2 separate regions of the Homo sapiens genome follow, and region 2 is linked to region 1. The links are contacts of gene promoters, found by promoter capture Hi-C in blood cells and fetal thymus (Javierre and others, 2016). All regions are on one chromosome and are shown on one strand. The core of a region is centred on a gene start or on the middle of the fragment in contact, and the rest is flanking DNA. Distances in the headings are between cores, read along the strand shown. Region 1 holds the start of NOA1 (nitric oxide associated 1). Region 2 overlaps ANKRD17 (ankyrin repeat domain 17).

Region 1 (2,944 bases), core at 371-2,870:
GCAGTGAGCCGAGATCACGCCACTGCACTCCAGCCTGGGCGACAGAGTGAGACTCTGTCTCCAAAACAAAACAAACAAACAAAACACAAAGTTCATTAGGTTCAGACAGTAAAAAGGACGCACACTTTCTGGAACAATATACAAAGAAGTTACAAAGCAAATCTCCAGAACAGGAACTTTGCTTTGTTCCCTGGTCTATCTCCAGTGCTTAGTGACTGGGAACAGAGACGTGCTCCATAAACACTTCCATTGAAAATTACTACAACACATCCTCAATTTTCCCTAGCAGTAAGCTGACACAGAAGAGAGGTGTGACCAGAGTGGGGAGAGAATTTGTAAAGGGAAGGGTACAGGCAGCCCGCAGTGGACATTAAGGGAGGATGTACTCGGTGCCTCGGCCAGGACCAGACGTCCACCTTGCCAGGAAACGAAGAGGGCGAGCCTCCTAAAACTCACCTGGCCAAGGGGAGATGGTGGCTCTGTCGATGGCCTCGGAGCCCTTGGCAGTGCAGTAATCGGACTCCAGGAGCGTGTTAAAGAGAGTGGATTTGCCGGCGTTGGTGGCGCCCACTAAGTAGACGTCCCCACGGTAGCGCCAGGAGCGCTGAAGGGCAGAGATCAACTCTTCCACTCCATAGCCGGTCTTGGCGCTGATCAGCCGCACGTCCCTGACCACTGTGCGGGACCAGTTCGGCGGATTCGGATTCTCCCCGTCCTGTGGCTCGTCCTTGACGGGGCGCTGTGGCCCTTGGTGGCCAGGGGCCAGCAGGAGCCCGGCGCGGGCACAGTCCTCCCACAGTCGCTCCCGCAGCCTCTGCCGGTAGCCAGGAGCATCCTGGGGCAGGAGGTCCACTTTGTTTCCCAGCACGATCAGCTGCTTGGGGCCCACCAGCGCGGGCAAGTCGGGCAGCAGGGCGTCGGGCAGGTCCAGCAGGTCCACCATGTAGAGCACCAGGGAGGGGCCGGGCCGCCGCAACGCGGCGCTCACCAGCTCCAGGTACTGCTCGCGGCTCACCTGCAGGCGTAGAGCGCGCCGGTGGTGCGACAGCAGCCAGCAGCGCTGGCACACGGTCCGTGCCAGCCCGCCGTCTGCCTCCGCCGTGCGGAGGAACTTCTCTCGGGGCAGGTAGCCGGGCACTCCGGCGTCCTGGCAGTGCAGCTCTGCCCCACAGCCCGAGCAGTTCACGCCGCTGGGCGGCAATGCCGGGTCCGGGTGCCCCACGACCGGGTGCTCCCGGGACCTGGCCCGTAGGTTTTGCTGTCGCCGCTCCTCCCGCCGCTGCTGCCTCTGTCGCTCCTCCTCCTCCTGCTGTTGCTGGAGCTCCTGCAGCTGCTTTTCGCGGGTGGGTTGCGGCTCCGGATCCAGGATGTACTCCGGGAACAGAAAACGCTCCTGCATGTCACCACCTTCTCCAAAGCCCTCCGTGTCCACGGGGTCATAAGGAAGCTCGCGTCCCAGACTCGATGAGTGCTGGAAGGAGGAGGCGGCAGCGCACCTCCTCTCCAGGAGCGGCTCCCGGAGGCCATGGCGCGCTGCCGTGGGAGCGGATCCACGAAGGAAAAGGCTCAGCAGCCTGAACGGTAGGCGAGCGGGCAGCATGAGGAAGTAGCTCCAAAGGGGCGGAGCCACCAGCGCGCACGCGCACTAGGGTCCGAGGCGCGCATTTGACCCGAGACGAAAGCGCGTGGGTACTTGGGAGCTGTCCTGGTTGGTTTTGCGTCTAATCCCGTCAGTTCTCGCGATTTAAGCTCTGAGACTGAGAACCTACTTAAAGCTATGGCAAAGGCACTGGAGGATTGAGCTAGGTGGGCAGAAAAGAGCAGTGAGTGTTTTGGGTTTTTTCACTTTCAGGCTTAACGCCTCACTGCTAGCACAAGCCGCCCTTAATAAATCACACTTAAAAAGGAGCTTCCGGGGTCGGGCGCGGTGGCTCACGCCTGTAATCCCAGCAATTTGGGAGGCCGAGGCGGGCGGATCATGAGGTCAGGAGATCGAGACCATCCTGGCTTACACGGTGAAACCCCCATCTCTGCTAAAAATACAAAAAATTAGCCAGGCGTGGTGGCGGGCGCCTGTAGTCCCAGCTACTCGGGAGGCTGAGGCAGGAGAATGGCTTGAACGCGGGAGGCGGAGGTTGCAGTGAGCCGAGATCGCGCCACTGCACTCCAGCCTGGGCGACAGAGCGAGCCTGTCTCAAAAAAACAAAACAAAACAAAAACAGAAAGGAGCTTCCGGCCGGGCGCGTGGCTCACGCCTGTAATCCCAGCACTTTGGGAGGCCGAGGCGGGTGGATCACCTGAGGTCAGCAGTTCGAGACCAGCCTGGCCAACGTGGTGAAACCCCGTCTCTACTAAAAATACAAAAATTACCCGGGCGTGGTGACCCTTGCCTGTAATCCCAGCTATTTGGGAGGCCGAGGCAGGAGAATCGCTTGAACCCGGGAGACGGAGGTTGCAGTGAGCCGAGATCGCTCCACTGCACTCCAGCCTGGGCGACAGAGCGAGACTCCATTTCAAAAAATAATAAATAAATAAAAATAAAAAATAGCTTCGTGTTTTGGTCCTTATAAAGGCAAATAAATTGAGCATCCCAATGTTGCGGATTCACAGGACGAACACTTTTTAATAATAAGTATACCTGGTTTTGTTTTCAGGTGTCGTTATTTGTGCAACAACATTGAAAAACAAGCAGAAATAAAACATTGACGGAACGGATACGACCGCAGATTGCGGGAGCTGTCCTCTCAATCAGCCCGGCAGCGGCGGCCCACAATTTACGCGTGTGCAACCCTAACCCCGGCCCAAGCTTGACCTACAATTTGCGCAGGCGCAGATCCTAACTTTGGCGTCCCTGTGGGCGGCCTTTGGTGTGAGACGCGTGGTATTCTGGGAACGTCGGAGACGGAAGTTACTTCGTCTTTAGCTCCTGGCGCTGCTGGCTTCT
Region 2 (2,700 bases), core at 43-2,542, about 16 Mb after region 1:
TTATTATTACACTTAACAATATAAACATTTTTATTTTCATAAAATTTCCTACTTTCTTAAAGCAAAAATATATCAAATACTATACCCAGAACAATCTGAACTTAATCAAAATTAAAGGATGGAAATATCTGTGAAGATTTCTTATTACTAAGACTCCTAAAACTGGCTCAATTATAAATAATAACACTAAATATACAGTAACCAAGTTTCTGAAATGATCTCTCAGTTGTTTCATGTTTTCATATAAAAAAGCCAACATATAAACCACAGGTTTATATACACAGCCCTTGGCCATGTAAATTTGGGATATAAAATTGGAAGACATTTTTCCTCTTATTGATCATTCTAAGTAGTACAATCTATTGTTACACATAATTTTACAGGAAGGTCATCAAAATTCTAAAATTATAATCATGTCTCAGGAAAACATAAACAGAACAAGAAAAGAGGTATTTATATGAGCTGTCAGCCCTTTTTCTGCCATCTGTATATGGCTACTTTCCTGAGTATTAGTTCCTTTTACAGAAGGTAGGCAGAAGGAACGGAAATACTTTGATGCCTTTGGTTTGGAGAAGAAAATTACTGCCTGGATTATTTGAATAAATGAAATAGCCAAGACACTCTATTTAATCCCTTACCTTGGACTGTTGAAAAGCAATGATGTAAGTTGAAATCCACCTTTTCTAATTTTATTATACATTTTAGAGAGTATTTTACTTAAGATTTTAAAGGTCTAAATAGTCAACTTAAATATATGTGGGCATATATAATCAGTAATCACAGTTTAAAAGGTAAGCCATAGTATTATGAGAAATCATTTGTGTTATGTTCACTAATGATATTGACTTTTGTTAACTAATATTCAATAAGAGTACCTTTAAGAAGTTTATGATTCAAAAGATCAAGTTACAAAGACAGGAAAAAAAGAGTCTAATATTTATTCAATGCAAATAAGCATAATCTACATAAAATTCCGTATGTTCAATAAATAAAATCACAAAGGTGAAAATTACGGTAATGAACTTCAAGTAGCTCAATATTAAGTACAATAATAAAACTGTCACTGTGGTATACAGATGAACTTCATTATCCATTACTGGACATTTATTCAAGGAGTTATCCCTGTGGGGGGTAGAGGGCTAGGGAATATATTTTTCTGGAAAGCTCATTATGTAATAAATATCTGTTTACTTGCAATATGAGGTGCTTTAGAAAATGGTACATTTATCTGCAAAGTTAGCAAATTTATTCTTTGCACTCTGTATTTTTAGCACTGTGTCATTATGAGTACTTATAACTTTGGATAAGGCTCTTTTATTACTACTTAGAAAATGTTACCAAGATTGACAAATATTTAAGTCAAATGATATTTTAAATAAAGAGAAAAAGCTACTTATTTAGTATGATAGGATGCAACAGGTACATAGAAACTAAATTAAGATAAATTGAGAATTAGGAAAACTAAAATTGCAGAGGTTGTTTTAATAACTAGCAACATTGAATAAATAAGGTAACATGAAATCTTAACATGGTATTAAACAATTGAGATAATAAAAAGCCAGTTGTTCAGGTAGCATTAAAAAAACCTATGCATAAAGCACAAAACAGTGCTCAAGTAGGATTTCCTCAGAACATAAATAAGACTTCTAAAATCTGTTATATGCTGAAGTTTTAAATGGCTAAGAAAAATTGTCAAATAGATTTATCAAAATCTCCAAAGCACACTTCTTTAAAATCCAAACCAAAAAATTTTAAAAGCAAATTAAAATGTAACACTAGAACTCTGTAATCTAATTAGGCTTATTTAAACTGAACCACTAAAAAGTCATGTGGCCACTTGTAATTACTAAACTCCTTTGATGAAAGTTTATACTACTATTTCTAAGTAGATAATTTTACCACACATTTTTAAGGAAACTCACTAATAGAAACAAAGTAAAAAATAAAAGAGAAAAGAATAAAAATTAACCACAATTCAACTTAGACCTAACAGCTTTTAGGAAAGGGGAAAAGAGCACATTGGCAGGTGTCTGCAAGGAGGTAGGTAATAAATGGAATCAGTTTTCATTCTGCAGAACAACCATGAGACTTGCTGCAATGTCAGCTCCAAGCACACACTGAGGGACTCCAGAAAATACTCATTGATCATGCAGCACTTTATAATGCGCATAGGCTTTTTTCTCCTGCTAACCCCGCCTAGCTTCCCTTTGCAGCTTCTTCTCCCAAGCCCTCTCCCCACAGTAAAATAATCTTCCTGAAGATGTGAAATAGTTAATAAATTATCTCAACAGTCTAAGTATTAGGAATACCACTCACCACCATAAAGCCTCTTTATCTGAATTACCCAGGTTTTATCTAATGAGGAAAAAAAAGAAAAACCCTACACAATCCCACAGATAAGAATATGAGATTTAAATACCTATACCTATAAATACAAATTTCTAATAGTATACTACATTCAATGCCAAAAGCAATTATAGTTTCACTTTGACATGTATTTCCTTGGACTGATTTATACTCAAATAGGATCTTATAAAATTTTTACAACCAGAAAAGAGAAAATATAATTTAAAATGTTCATGATTCAAATTATAGTAATTTTGTATTGATGTCTCTCTAGCATCAGTGCCCTAAATTTCAGGGTTTTAATATTTTTAATTTAATAATTTGTTTTATAATAATCAAAGTCACATGAAAAAT

What was found. Contacts are between HindIII fragments. The CHiCAGO score rates a contact against its expected background, and 5 or more counts as called.
Region 2: a fragment that was not itself captured here is called in contact with the fragment with the promoter of NOA1 in region 1 in 1 of 17 cell types (total B cells); the score reaches 5.3 in total B cells.

What each region holds. Positions count from the first base shown.
Region 1 is chr4:56,975,986-56,978,929 of GRCh38, forward strand. NOA1 (nitric oxide associated 1) reads right to left here and starts at 1,621. Exons shown (of 7, transcript NM_032313.4): 1 at 457-1,621. The coding sequence starts at 1,600. It overlaps POLR2B (RNA polymerase II subunit B), which reads left to right and starts at 2,911. Exons shown (of 25, transcript NM_000938.3): 1 at 2,911-2,944. RefSeq lists enhancers at 854-913, 1,294-1,363 and a silencer at 1,114-1,193. The HindIII fragment of the contact is 14,072 bases long and covers 1-2,804 here.
Region 2 is chr4:73,219,779-73,222,478 of GRCh38, forward strand. All of the region lies in intron 1 of ANKRD17 (ankyrin repeat domain 17), which reads right to left. Among named protein-coding and RNA genes, the nearest start is that of ANKRD17, 38 kb to the right of the region's middle. The HindIII fragment of the contact is 3,013 bases long and covers 1-2,700 here.